3 separate regions of the Homo sapiens genome follow, and regions 2 and 3 are each linked to region 1. Evidence: promoter capture Hi-C in 16 types of primary human blood cells and fetal thymus (Javierre and others, 2016). All regions are on one chromosome and are shown on one strand. The core of a region is centred on a gene start or on the middle of the fragment in contact, and the rest is flanking DNA. Distances in the headings are between cores, read along the strand shown. Region 1 holds the start of GPR65 (G protein-coupled receptor 65). Region 2 overlaps KCNK10 (potassium two pore domain channel subfamily K member 10). Region 3 overlaps PTPN21 (protein tyrosine phosphatase non-receptor type 21).

What was found. Contacts are between HindIII fragments. The CHiCAGO score rates a contact against its expected background, and 5 or more counts as called.
Region 2: a fragment that was not itself captured here is called in contact with the fragment with the promoter of GPR65 in region 1 in 1 of 17 cell types (monocytes); the score reaches 9.1 in monocytes.
Region 3: a contact is called between a fragment that was not itself captured here and the fragment with the promoter of GPR65 in region 1, in 1 of 17 cell types (monocytes). The highest score is 5.4, in monocytes.

Annotation. Positions count from the first base shown.
Region 1 is chr14:88,001,928-88,006,815 of GRCh38, reverse strand. GPR65 (G protein-coupled receptor 65) reads right to left here and starts at 1,681. Exons shown (of 2, transcript NM_003608.4): 1 at 1,594-1,681. RefSeq lists enhancers at 237-296, 1,097-1,266. The HindIII fragment of the contact is 4,497 bases long and covers 1-4,095 here.
Region 2 is chr14:88,303,211-88,307,947 of GRCh38, reverse strand. All of the region lies in intron 1 of KCNK10 (potassium two pore domain channel subfamily K member 10), which reads left to right. Among named protein-coding and RNA genes, the nearest start is that of KCNK10, 18 kb to the left of the region's middle. The HindIII fragment of the contact is 206 bases long and covers 2,303-2,508 here.
Region 3 is chr14:88,493,124-88,497,821 of GRCh38, reverse strand. It overlaps PTPN21 (protein tyrosine phosphatase non-receptor type 21), which reads left to right. Exons shown (of 19, transcript NM_007039.4): 9 at 532-619; 10 at 1,330-1,409. Among named protein-coding and RNA genes, the nearest start is that of PTPN21, 60 kb to the left of the region's middle. The HindIII fragment of the contact is 7,054 bases long and covers 1-4,698 here.

The sequences.
Region 1 (4,888 bases), core at 432-2,931:
CAGCCCCCGCGGATGGGACTCTGATGCACACACAACACGTCCAACACCAGGCTCATGTGTCTTGGGAAGAACACCTGAACCATGAAAACATCCTCCCCTTAAGACCAGGACCGAGAAAGTCGGGTAATGGGCAGCATGTGCCTCTTCCTCCTTTGTCCGTGTTACTCAATAGATAGTCATCATTTTCTTTAAAAATGGTATGACAGATTAAATGAAAAAATGATTTTTAGAAAGGTTTATAAAGTTTTCAATGGAATACATTTCTCTAGCTGTAAAAGCATTTCCTGCCTTGACTTAACCACAAGACAGGATGGGTTGATGAAGCAGAGGCCCTCTTCTTTGTAGTGACGCAGAGGCAGTACAGGCTTGTGGTTAAGAGCGTGGGCTCTGGAGACAATTCGAATGCCTCTCAACAGCACTCTGGGCCCATTGGTGTTTCTTCACCTCTCTAAGTTCCAGTTTTCACATGTGTAAGTTAGTACCCAGTTTCTAAGATTGTTGTGAGGGTTAAATGAAACGACATATGAAGCAAAGTTCCTAGCACATGGGAGGCATTCACTGTACGTTAGCTGGTAATATTGTTTTAATGACATTGGTAGTCTGCACCAATCTTTGTGCTGTCCCCTACATTTTCTGAAAAGAAATCATCTTTAGTCATCTAGCCACAGCATAGCAGAAAAGCTGGAGGTGCTCAGAGTGTAATTTATATGGTAACACTTCACGTATAATACTAGGCTCTGCAGATAATAGTTGTTCATTTAATTTGGGTGGATCTGAGATTTTAGTGGAATACTGTATATAATTCCTATTACAGTATTCACATATCTTTTCAGATATTATTTTGCCTCCTTTAATCAAATTTTGAGAAAATTGTTTTTAGAACAAGCACTGAGAAATTTTGGTGAGTTTTTAATTTTTTAATTTTTACCAGATGTCAAAAAAGACAATCTACAGTATATTAAAGTATATCTATTCTTGAACAGATCTAAAAATAGTACAAATCATTGATGACGATGACCAAAAGTACAATATTTTCCTACAGTGTTATAGAAAATGCTTGCTTTCATCTATCAGTTTAATAGTTACTTATTAAGACTCTACTATATATTTCAGGCACTGTGGTAGTCACTTATTAACTAATAATTATTACTTGACATTTATTAATACTGGAAATATTCTTTCCTAATATCACATTTTTTTCTGATGGATATAAAAAGTATTTACTGGACCATTGTACAGATGAGGGATTGGTGCCAGATAGCTCTAAAGCCAGGGGCTGGTAGGCTTCTTCCTAATACTGAATGAAGTTTGCCAAAGCACTGTTTCCTGAAAAGAAAATAAAGTATGAACAACCCCCTTTTTCTATATCTATGGTTTTGCCTAATTAGTTCTAAATTTAAAGTTTGGCCCTTTACCACTGCTCAAAGTAGAGGAAACCATGTGTCTTCCTCATTTCTTTCTCTCTTATCATGCTTTGCATTACCACATTTATACAGCCTAAACCAGGAAGAATGTTGCGAACATCACTGACAATTATGCCAAAGCATGTTATCTACTTTAAAATATTATTTTATTTTTTAATCTTATACTTACCCATATTTCTTCCGGTGATGTGTTTGTTGACTGAGGAGCTTGATAAATCTGTGCCTGCATCAAGTCAAGAAGAGAAACCAACACTGCTGAGGGGACAGGAAATTGCACTCATATTTCAGCACAAACCAATGAGGAAGCAGCATCTCAATGAGAAGGGTGTGCGTTATCCAAGTTTGAACAAAAAAAGTCTCTTAAATACTTTTAAAGATGTTTTTATTTATTGTTTACTGTACTGTAATTTTTATAACTCACTTGTCTCATTGCATCTTAATTACAAGTATGTACTGATATTATATTATATGCCCTTTACTTAATGGAATATATGTTAAATATTTTATTTATTTCTTTGTTCATTCATTCATTCATTCATTCATTCACTCATCATGCCAGCAGTGTGCGGGGAGATGTATACGAACTGGCTATCAACCAAAAGCAGCTTTTTTTACCTAGTAAAGGAGAAAGACATGTTTAATAATGATTGTAATGCAATGGCAAAATGAAGAAGTACTTCAAGAGGGGTACAGATAAAATAGAATGAACCATTTGGATGTGTGAGATAGGGGAGGATATTGTAGGTAGATTCAGGGTGATAAAGTTCCTGGGACAAAAACAGAAAAGGGAGAATTGAGGCTGAGGGGTTTAATGATGGATATTGTGCTGCTTAAGGCAGGGGTTAAGGTAGCCAACCTCATACCGTCTTTCTTTTCTTTTTTTTTTTGAGAGACTAATGGGATTAGATATATAGTATTTGATTGTAGAACTATTTTCTCCTTTGATTCTCTCCTCTTGGAAACAGAGATGGCTAAAAACCAGTTGAATTAACTAGCTGAGACAAATAATTTTATGAAACTTGAAAATTTTATTTAAGACTTACATTGTTATTATAAAAACTCTTGTACTTTAGCAAGTTAAAGTTAATGCCAAATCTATAAGTGGTTTAATATGAAGTGAAATTAGCTCCTATAACTTTCTTACTATTGATATATAAAAAAGTCAGAAATATCACTTTTGAATCTTGCCCTCATAAACTTTTATTAGAAATGAAGGGAAAATATTATTTGAAAGAACAGAATTTATTTGGGATGAAAACATTTGACTTAATTTTAAAGATGTAATCAGGACATTTTGAATCTGTGTTTGTTAAAGGACATTAAGGGTTGTTGCTGGTGTTTTTTTTTTGTTGTTTTTTTCTCCCTACCCAGAGATAGAAAAGATTAGCCTGTATATAAGCAAGGCTTTCCATATTGAAGTTGATCAGGGTATATCAGGAATGTAAAGATTTTCAATACTTCCGTTGTAGGTCTTTCTTTGAGAATAATAAAACTAATACCTTACATTTATAAAGCACAGGATAGTTTATAAAGTAATTTAGCATATAGTAAATTATAAATCAATATATTGTTACTGAAATAATAAAAATTAAGTATAAAGTAAAAAATTAACAATAAATGTCTTGAAGTTTTACAAAAATGAAAAGTAACGATTTCAGTTTACTTGTGACTGTAATTCAAAGTTCTCATTTTTGCTTGGTTTCGTACATCTGCTTATCTGTGGTTTCTATACATGATATATCTTTTTTTAAGTTCGGGGTACAAGTGCATTGTTACGTAGGTATTTCATTACTCTGATGATCTCTTACTTTATCTGAATAGACTATACTTCTGCTTTTAGGGAAAGGGTATTTTCATGTCCATATCTAATATTCATGTATTTTGCTTTTCAAAAGAAAAAGATTATCATTAAGAAACATAAGAAACACAAACTTTCACTTCTGATTAAAGAGGAGAAAAAGCTGGAGCTGACCTATGCTAAAACCTTGCCAACTCTACACAATAAGAAATTTACCAGCTTTTAAGAAATTTGCTTCTTAATATGGAAAATATGGCAATACTGTATTTTCAACTATAGGGCTATCTTTTATAATGAACGGTTAGAAATTTTAAATCATTGAGTCACTGTGACATTTTAACAACATAACAATGAGATAAAGACAATTAGTAGTTATTCAGAACACTGCCTTAACGGGGTTGGCATTTCTGACCAGTCAATTATTTGGTTTTCTGTGGTCACAATCTGGGGACCCAACACTGGCCAGTTGGGCTACTCATGGGGTAATGGGGAGGAGATTGTGGATCTACCTGGTTCCAACTTCTCCATTGGGCAGACAGTGCAAGAGTGTGTTCTACTGATGAAGGGGTCCTTTGTGAGGCCACACTATCTGCTAGGTGTAATTTCACTAGCTAAAGCGGCAACTAAATATGGCAGGGTAAGATTTTGAAATAATGCTATATTTTCCCAGCCACATTTCTTTTCACTCTAGCCCTACCCTTACACAATCAGTGAGCCATTTTGCATTTATTGCCTCAAGGAAATTTCTGGCACAAGCGGGGGGGAAAAAAAGAAGACAATGTGAGTTTTGACTTTCAAAAATTCAAGGCCTTGGAAAAGACTGAGGCACAGACACTATGCTTGGGAGAATATGTGCTGAAATAAAGTAAAGCTTCCCAGCCCCCAAAACTGAAAAAGATTGTCCTGCTTGGCGGGGGTTGGGTTTAACGTTGTGAGAGAGGAAGTATGTTCAAGAGTTAGATGTGGTCAGTGCTTGAGAAAGGGGCCCTGCATCCTGATTGCTGTACTCACTTCCAAGCAAGCCCTGAGGTAGGGGTGGGTGACAAACACCCTAGATGAGTTGTGTGATCTGGGGAGGAGAGTGAACCTGTGCCTCATTTCCAAGGAGAGACTCAGGAGTATGTACCTGAGAGACCTCACTGTCATAGTTGGGTATGGTTTGTTTGTCTTTATAAAGCTGGTGTTGATTTGATTCCCAGTGTGGCAGTAGTGGGAAGTGGGGCCCAGTGGGAGACGTTTGGGCAATGGGGGTAGATCCCTCCTTAATGGCTTGGTGCTGTTCTGAGGTAGTAAGCGAGTTCTCTTTCTGGATTAGTTCTCCCAGGAATGGATTAGTTCTCGAGAGAGTGGGCTATTATAAGAGCCTGGATACCTCTCCGGCCCTCTTTGCATGTGTCCACTTTCCTTTGGACTTTCTTTGCCATGCTGTGATGCAGCATGAAATCCCTTGCCAGAAGCTGGGACCACATCCTTGAATTTCTTGGCCTACAGAATCATGAGCTAAATAAACCTCTTTTCTTTATAAATTATCCAGTCTCACGTATTATTTTATAGCAACACAAAACAAACTAAGACACTCATCAAGTCCCTCTGTGCCCGTATAGCACAGGTGGAGTAGAATGAGGGGCACAAAGAAGTGATGGGAAGCCTCAGCCCATCTCACAGC
Region 2 (4,737 bases), core at 1,156-3,655, 300 kb before region 1:
AGGTATGGTTAAATGAGACCTCTTAAATGAGACCATGCACACGAAGAGCAGAGCACAGTGCCTGGCACACAGGAGGCACCTAATAAACATCAATGATGCTGCTGCTGGTAACACCCATTTGCTGAGGGTCTTCAGTGGCTCAGGCACAGTACTCAGTGCTTAACATATAATATGTAATTTATTCTTCACAGTAGCCTGAGTCACTTGCTTGTTCTTCTGGTTAATATCCTAATGTTTAGCTCACCGACTTAGATGCTCATGACTTCCAAAGGATCTTCATGTAACAAGGACTCCATATCTATTTTTAAAAAATAAGAGCTTTATTAAGATATAATTTACATACCATAAAATTACCTATTTAAAATGTACAATTCAGTGGTTTTTAGTATATTCACAGAGTTGTGCAATCATCATCACTATCTAATTGTAGAAAATTTTCATGACTCCAAAAAGAAACTCCATATCCATTAGCAGTCACTCCCCATTTTATCTCTCCCAGTCCCTGGCAAGCATGAATTTACTTTCTGTCTCTATGGAGTTGCCTATTTTGGGCATTTCATGTAAATGGCATCATACAACAGGTAGATATTTGTGTGTGTGTGTGTGTGTGTGTGTGTGTGATCAGCTTCTTTCACGTAACATAATGCTTTCAAGGTTCACTCATGTGGCATCCATACCTATTTTGAATGAAGAATGAAGACAGTCATCTGAGACAGTTGTATTAGTCCATTTGGAAGATGAGGAAACTGAGGCTGAGAGTGTGTATGTAATTTGCTCATGGCCACCCATCTTGAAAGCGCTTGAGCTGGGATTTGTGCTCAGGTCCATCTTGGCTCCAAGGCAAGACCTTGGCCTTCTCATCCACTCACTGGTCTCTGGTTGGACCTCTGCATCATGCTGAACACCATTTCTATAGAGATGGGTGTGTCCCACTGGGTGTGGACATCCTGAGGAATTGCTGTGGTTGCAAGAACTCTGATATTTTCCATCTACCTTGAGGGGGATATGGTTTCATGTCTGTATACTCACATAGTGTTGACCAGTCTAATTCTTTTGTCCATTTCCTAAGGGTTATGATATGAACTTGGAAAGTTACAGAAATGAAAGTGATAGGAGAGATATACTTTCTGGGTTGGAAACCCAGCAACCAGTCACTCAATATGATGGAGGAAATGTCATCCTTCTTGTGTTGTCTTCAATAATAGATTGTAATGAAACACTATGGTGTCTTAGTTGGCTCCCCTCCTACCCCATGCCCCCTCCCCCAGCCCCAGTGCTTTTCTGGAGACATGAGATGGTGTATCCCTTCCTCAGTTGCTGTGATAGCAGTGGGGATGATGGGGACAGGTATTCATGGAAGGAAAAGGCGTGGTACCAGCAGGCTCTTGGGCAGGGATGTGTGTCTTCACTTGATCATCAGGGAATGAGCTATCATGATGACAGAGCACATCCTATGAAGTACAAATCTTCCCCCACATTTCCCCAAAATTACTTTTGTCCTGCTCTGTTCTCTCACATGCTATTCTAGGGAAAAGGTCCCATTTTATCATTAAAATGCAAATGAGATTTCCATCTTGCTTCTACCAAAGAAGGAGGAAAATAACCTATATAAACACCATGAAACCTTACTTTGACTTAAAACTAGTGGAAATTGGCCCCTGAATCAGATAATTAGCTGAAAGTACATGAACAATTTAGGCCTCCGGTAGTGGTTATGTGCTTGTTGTATAGGAATTTCGTCTACCATGGATTTCATGGAAGTGGCCCCATTCCTGCTCTGGGTTTATGTAAGACTTTCAGCAGCAGCCCAGTCTGATGTAGCAGATGTTCCAGTGCCTGTCCCTATCCTCCTGCTCGCACCACTTCAGCTCATGCTGGCTCACTTCTGACTGCCAACTTGGCATTTTTTTTGCCTTTTTCTTGACTGAGCCTACTTTGCTGCTCCCATGGAAGGCAGGAAGTGTTGGGGAATTAGTGGACCCCAGGAGGAGCCCTCAACCAATAACTGATGGAAGATGGTGCGTAAACACCCCAATTCCCTCAGCCTTGGGTAGGGTAACTCAGGAATATGGTTTACATGGGGTCCCAGTTTCCTCTGTAGGAAAAATTCCACTGGGCGACAGCAGTAGCTAGTTAGAAACTTCACCTTTTATTGGTTTTCTTGGCTGCCTTCCCAGCCCTTTCTCTTTTCTCTAATTCCCTACTGGCGATTTCTTCACTTCCCAAACAAACCACTTGTGCTCAAATTGTAATTGTAGGATCAGCTTCTGGGGAAACCCAAATGAAGACATATGGTAAAGCTTCCCTCTTTTCTTGCCTTTCTGCCTTTTGCCCCAATCAGTTAGCTTTGATGGTGGGAGTGAGGGGATGCTCAACCTCTCAGGCAGGCTAATGGCTCTCAGGAGACACAATCCACAGCTGATTGGCAGTTTTCTCCCCAAGATATCTTCAGAACAAACCCTGGTGCTGGTGAGTGATCCATGCAGCATGAAAAGAGAGGGTGAAGCTTGATGAGGCATGTTCCAGTCTCATCAAACTATTTTGTTTCCATAATTTTCCTTCTCAGAAAAGGGCAGAATCAAGTACAGTTGATTCTCATCATTTATGGTAATTCTTGTGTTTTATAAAGTTGCTGTAAATCCTGAATTAGCAAATAGTGAACCGTTGCTTTTAGGGGAAATATACGGTTAGGTTCCTGTGAGCCTCTAGTCACAACATTTTCTTCTTCTTCTTCTTCTTTTTTTTTTCGAGCTTAGGGTCTTGTTCTATCACCCAGGTGGGAGTGCAGTGGCGCGATCTTGGCTCACTGCAACCTCCACATCCCAGGTTCAAGCGATTCTCCCACTTCAGCCTACCGAGTAGCTGGGACTACAGGCATGCACCACCATATCCGGCTAACTTTTGTATTTTTTGGTAGAGGTGGGGTTTCACCACATTGGCCAGGCTTGTCTCAAACTCCTGACGTCAGGTGATCTGCCTGCCTCGGCCTCCCAAAGTGCTAGGATTATAGGCATGAGCCATCACACCTGGTCAGGTCACATTTTCATCAACTAAATACATAACCTTGTTGTATGTGTGTTTCTGTTTAAAGACATCTTATTTCATATATACTGTTGATTTGTTAGCATTGAACTCACAGCCACAGCACTGTGACTCATTTCTGAACAAAGTTATCTAACACACATATTTTCTCCATAAGGCACCTCGCATCTTGCACTTAGGAACACTGGATAGCACTTCAGCATTGCACTTGGGGGTGATTTTAAACAGTGCAAACACTAACAAAAAAGCACAAAATGTGAAAAACATGGCACTAAATAGATCACAGAATGGACACTAGCTTACAGCATGAGCGCTCGAACAAGAAGGCAGAGCGCTGCCTTGTTCAACCTCAGCTGAGGACATGTGCATCGGGTGACTCAAACTTTTTTCACTGCTGTGTGCATGACTGCGAATGACTGCAGAACACCATGAATATTGATTTGATTTCGGGGTTACAAATAAATTTTAACACGTAGAAGAATTTGCAAATATATATTCAGTGAATAATGAGGGTCAGTTGTCTTTCTTACTTCATTACAATAAGACTCTACTTCAATTCAGTATTTTTATTTCATTTTATTTTGTTTTTGAGAGATAGGGTCTTGCTCTGTCACCCAGGCTGGAGTGCAGTGGTGTGATCCTAGCTCACTGCAGCCTCAAACTCCTGGGCTCAAGTGATCCTCCCGCCCCAGCCTCCCAAATAGCTAGGACTACAGGAACATGCCACCACACCTGGCTAATTTATTTATTTTTTTGTGGAGACGGCCTCCCTATGTTGCCCAGGCTGGTCTCCAACTCCTGTTTTCAAGCCATCCCCCTTCTCACTCTCCCAAAGTACAATTTAGTATATTTATTAAACGTGTGTTCCAGGCTTTTTGATTGCTATTGAGATGCTAATGAGATGGTCCCTGTCATTAAAGAGCGTCCATTCTGGTGGCACAAGGAACTCAAATTATGACACAAGACAGAATACCTACTCCAGAAGAGAGTTCTGTGAAAGCGTGAAGGAGGGACTTGAGTGTGCGATTCAGGAAGGACTTCACATTGGAGGGAGTTTTTTTAGATAGGTCTTGAGAAACATTTTACATTTTGAACACCTCATACATCATTGATAAAAAAAAGAAGCAATTGGTCGAAACAACTTCATTTCCCCAGATCAAGTCTTCTAGGTTACCTGCATCTGCACCCACCAGTCCCACCTTGATTCCTCTCTAGATGAAGGGCGTCTTTTCCTACCTAAGGCCGTCCCTTCTGCTTATGCTGGGGACTCCTTTGCTCTTTGGGGCATCCTCTCTTCTCCTGGGGAATTGATCTCTCCCTCTCTACTTGAATATTCCTACTAGCGTATACATGGGCTTCCGTGTCATCCCCCTTGATCCCGCATTGCCGCCAGCCACCCCTCATTCCTTTAGGCCTTTCACAGCAAAATTGCTGGAAAGGGTGGTCTGAAGTCACCATCACTACTTCCTCCCCTCACATTCTTTCCAAGCCACCACCACTTTATGGGGGCTGCTCCTTTGGAGGCCACTTATGGACATTGCATCACCTTTCTGTCCTTTTATCTTAAGTACCAGTTAGGATGCTTTCAGCTGCCTGTTGCAGAATGTCCTGATACAAGTGACTTACACAATACGGACATTGACTGTTAAGAGAGTTACGTTCTCACTGAACAAGGATGTTCCAGGCTTGGCTTGG
Region 3 (4,698 bases), core at 1,394-3,893, 490 kb before region 1:
GACCTAGTTTTTGTTTTTTATTTGTTTCTTTGTTTGTTTGTTTGAGGCAGTGTCTCACTCTGTCGCCCAGGTTGGAGTGCAGTGGTGCGATCTCGGCTCACTGCAAGCTCTGCCTCCCGGGTTCACACCATTCTCCCGCCTCAGCCTCCCGAGTAGCTGGGCCTACAGGTACCTGCTACCACGCCTGGCGAGTTTTTTCTTTTTTTTTGTATTTTTAGTAGAGACGGGGTTTCACCATGTTAGCCAGGATGGTCTCCATCTCCTGACCTCGTGATCCACCCACCTTGGCCTCCCAAAGTGCTGAGATTACAGGCGTGAGCCACTGCGCCTGGGCTAGTTTTTGTATTTTTAATAGAGACAGGGTTTCACCATGTTGGCCAGGCTGGTCTCGTGTTTTTTGTTTTTTGTTTTTCTCAAAAATGTTACCAAATGCTAACTTACACGTCAGGCTTAGGGAAAACTTGTGTATTCTATCTCCTTGTTTCCCCCATGGGCACTCACATTGCCAGTTCTCTATTTGCTGTTCTTTAGGTGGCATGACATTGCCAACATGTCCCACAACAAGTCCTTTTTTGCATTAGAGCTGGCAAATAAAGAGGAGACCATTCAATTTCAAACTGTGAGTAAACATTAGGGGTCTGCATGGAATGTTTTTCCTAAAAGTTAACAAGTTCTACTTCTGCGTGCCTGTATGTGTTTGGAGGCAGGGCAGCATTAAAATGATAATATTTTGTAATTGTATAAAACATGCAGTTTTATCATATAGCATTTTGCAAAATGGCAGTTAGCAAAAAATGGCTGCTCAGTAAATGCTGAGTGAATGAGTCTTTGGATAACTACTGTCTGATCATGATAACCTTTAAATTAAACTTCAGGGATTATGTGGGGGAGAAAGTAAGCACTGATATCTTAAATTTCATTGATAAATGAATAGCTCTGAAGAAATGTTATTTAACAGTTACTTGCTTTTGCTCTCTTGACAAAGGCAATATTGAGTTACTGAGTCATATTTTTGTTTAAAAATGTCTTTGAGTATATTTGGCAAGAATAAAAGTTGGTATTTTTATAGTTTTTAGATTCCCAAGTCATTTTGAAACTGTTTAATATGAGAATCACACTGTTAGAACAGATTGTTTTGTCTTCATAAATTAAATCCTACTTGTGGTATTCATACCATGGGCACAGTGTTGGAAAATGAAAGGCTTATAGTGTTCTGAAAGTGACTTTGTCATATGATGTCACCCATTATGTCTTTAGACAAACTCTGCATTAAACGTATCAAGTTGTATGTGTGCTTTCATATTGCTTTATGCCTATTTTGTTTGCTAGGAAGACATGGAAACAGCAAAATACATTTGGAGACTCTGTGTTGCGCGACACAAGTTTTACAGACTAAACCAGTGTAACCTGTAAGTATGTCCTGCTCATGGAAATTATCAAAAATAATGAATTTAGAAATTGTAATCTTGAGTATACTGTATCATCAAGAAAGACATTTTATCAGTTGACATCTTTTCTTGATCCTATAGCTGTTTTCCTATTTTAGCTTTGGACCAACTTGTAATAACTACATTGTATGCCTCTAAGATTTATTTCAACTAGTTACAAGAACCATTGTAATTCTTGAAAGGTAAAAAGGGAATAATATCCTTTATTTGTTTAAATCAATCCTCTGGTAAGCATTTTGAGTCATTAAAGATTATTCAGCTTTTCCAGCTATCTGAAGAATTTTTGCCCCTCCTTCCTGGTGTGCATTTTTCTTAGCCCACATGGGTTTCTTACTGTTTGCCAGATCAATAAAGCACACGGTGATATTGCACATATAAAATATTGTCCTTCATCTATACTCCCCTCCAGCCTCTGCACCATATCTCTGCTTTCCTGAATAGCAGGTTTCCTCAAGAGAGTTGTGTATGCTTGTATGTTTCCTTCCTTCCATCCCATTTTCCCTAAGCCTCCACGTTACTGATGCTGCTTGTTGTGGTCAGGTGACTTTCGTCCAGTGATCATTTCATGAGTTCTCTCACTTGACCGCTCCGCAGTACTGATCCTCCGACAGCTCCTTCCATCCTTCTGGAATCCTGCTCTTCTTCGGCTGCCAGGACACCACCCCCTGCTCGGCTTCCTCTTTCTAGGCTGTTTCTTCTCAGTCACCTTTGCTGGTTTGGTCCTGAGGCCTTTTCTCCAAATCCTTTCGTCTAGGGGGCTTCTCCTGACCTGTCCTCCCCCTGAGCCCCCGGTTCAAGTGATTCTCCTGCCTCAGCCTCCCGAGTAGCTGGGATTACAGGCATGCGCCACCACACCCCACTAATTTTGTATTTTTAGTAGAGACAGGGTTTCTCCATGTTGTTCAGGCTGGTCTTGAACTTCCAACCTCAGGTGATCTGCCTGCCTTGGCCTCCCAAAGTGCTGGGATTACAGGCGTGAGCCACCGTGCCCGGCCCTCCTTGAGCTCTTGACTCCTGCATCCTACCGCAAGCATTTAGTGTGCTTAGTCCTCAATACCACTCTGAAAGTTGTGGTGAATATATACTACTGCCTGTATATTCTGAAGGTAGAGCTGGCAGAACTTGCTGATGAATTGGATGTGGTATGAAACCTGACCATTTTTACCACTCGTGTTAACAGCTTAGTGCTGGCTGCCACTACTTCTCATCAGAATACTGAGGTAGCCTTCTGACTTTCCTGTTTCTGTGCCTTCGCTGCCTGTAGCTTATTTTCCATATGTCAGCCAGAATGATCTTAGTTTAACCTGAATCAGATCCTGACACTGACACTCTTCTTTTTTTTTTTTTTTTTTTTTTTTTTGGAGACAGAGTCTCGCTCTGTCACCCAGGCTGGAGTGCAGTGGCACGATCTTGGCTCACTGCAACCTCCGCCTCCCGGGTTCAAGTGATTCTCCTGCCTCAGCCTCTTGAGTAGCTGGGACTACAGGCACATGCCACCACGCCCAGCTAATTTTTTGTATTTTTAGTAGAGATGGGGTTTCACCATGTTGGCCAGGATGGTCTTGATCTCCTGACCTCGTGATCCACCTGCCTCAGCCTCCCAAAGTGCTGGGATTACAGGTGTGAGCCACCGCACCCTGCCCAGATCCTTTCACTCTTCTTAACCCTCCTTTGGCATTCCACTTCTTTTTTTAAGTAATTTTTTTAGTTTGTTTTTGAGACAGCTCTGTCACCCAGGCTGAGTACAGTGGCATGATCATGGCTCACAGCAGCCTCTCAACCTCCCTGGGCTCAGGTGATCCTCCCACCTCAGCCTCCTGAGTAGCTGGTACCACAGGTGTGTACCTGGTTAATTTTTTGGTGTTTTTTATAGAGGCAGGATCTCCTTATGTTACCCACACCGGTCTCAAACTTCTGGACTTTAGGAATCCTCCTGCCCCGGCCTCTCAAAGGGCTGGACAGGTGTGAGCCACCAGGCCTGGCCCCATTTTACTTCTAATAAAAGTACGAGGCCATACACAGTGTGGTCCTTGCCTGGTTTCAACCTTATGTCTTTTATCCTCCTCCCTGCTTGCTCTGTTCCAGCCACAGTGGTATCCTGGCTAGGCTGCAGATGTGCCTCACCCTAGGGGATGCTGTCCTTGCTCTTTTCCCAGGTCTCCACCTGCCTTGCTCCCTCATTGCAGCCTGCTGTCTGGTCAGATATGACCCTCTTCAGAGGCTGTCCCTGATTGTCCTATGGTACCCCCCTTCCACTATGATCTGTCTCTTTACCCTCTAACTTTGTTTTGTTCTTTATAGCACTTAGCACCATGTGAATTTCTATATTTGTTTGTTTGTTTGTTTGCCTGTATCCCCTGCCAGCAGGTTAGCTCTAGAGCAGTGCTTGAGGACAGACACTCTTCCCTGCCTTCAGTGCTATATTCCCCATGCCAAGCAAGGGCCTGGCTCACTGTCGGCCTTAATGAATTTGTTCAGCTAATCTATAGATACAGGTGTTAAGAGCTCTGATTCAAGATGTCTTGGTGCTGTAAGATCCCTTAGGAAAATGGTACGTCACCCAGAACTGCCAAGATAGGAAAGGCTACCCAGCCAAGTGACATCTAAGCTGAGACCCGAAATGTTGCACTCAATTCCCACAACCTTTCTTTAAGCTGTCCTCTTGTCCCTGGTCCATGTCTGGAGGCACCTCCTGGAGCTCCCTCCCACTTGGCCCCCCACGCCCTATCTCATCTGTATGCAGTCAGTCTTCTGGATAGATAAGCAAAATATGTAGCACTGCTCTTGAAGTTACATGTCAGGAACAAATCTGAGCATGTGCCTCTCACCCGCCCCGTCCTGGGTACAGGATTAAGGGCAGACTCCTGAGGTCCTTCTCTGGACTTAGCTGCCCCAGCCCAGTTGGCCTTGGAGTCTGACTCCAGGAAGGCATCTTTCCTTATCATGTGAATGCCCCCAGCCCAGGCCTTTGCTAAAATGCCCTTCCTTCCCTTCTCTGACAGACTCTTAGTCATTCTTCAAGATTGAGTTTAAAATACAGCCCCCATAGACACCACCAAACATTCAGTTTGCTTAGTCCTTGACACCACTCTGAAAGTTGTTTTTTCTACCTCTTTTATAACAATGACCTGAATAATTCATAACAATAATTTAGTAAATGCTTGCTCTGTGTCAAGCATTATACTGAGAGCTTTTATTTTCTTTAATCCTTACAGTAACCCTGTTGGGCACAATTATTACTATCCCATTA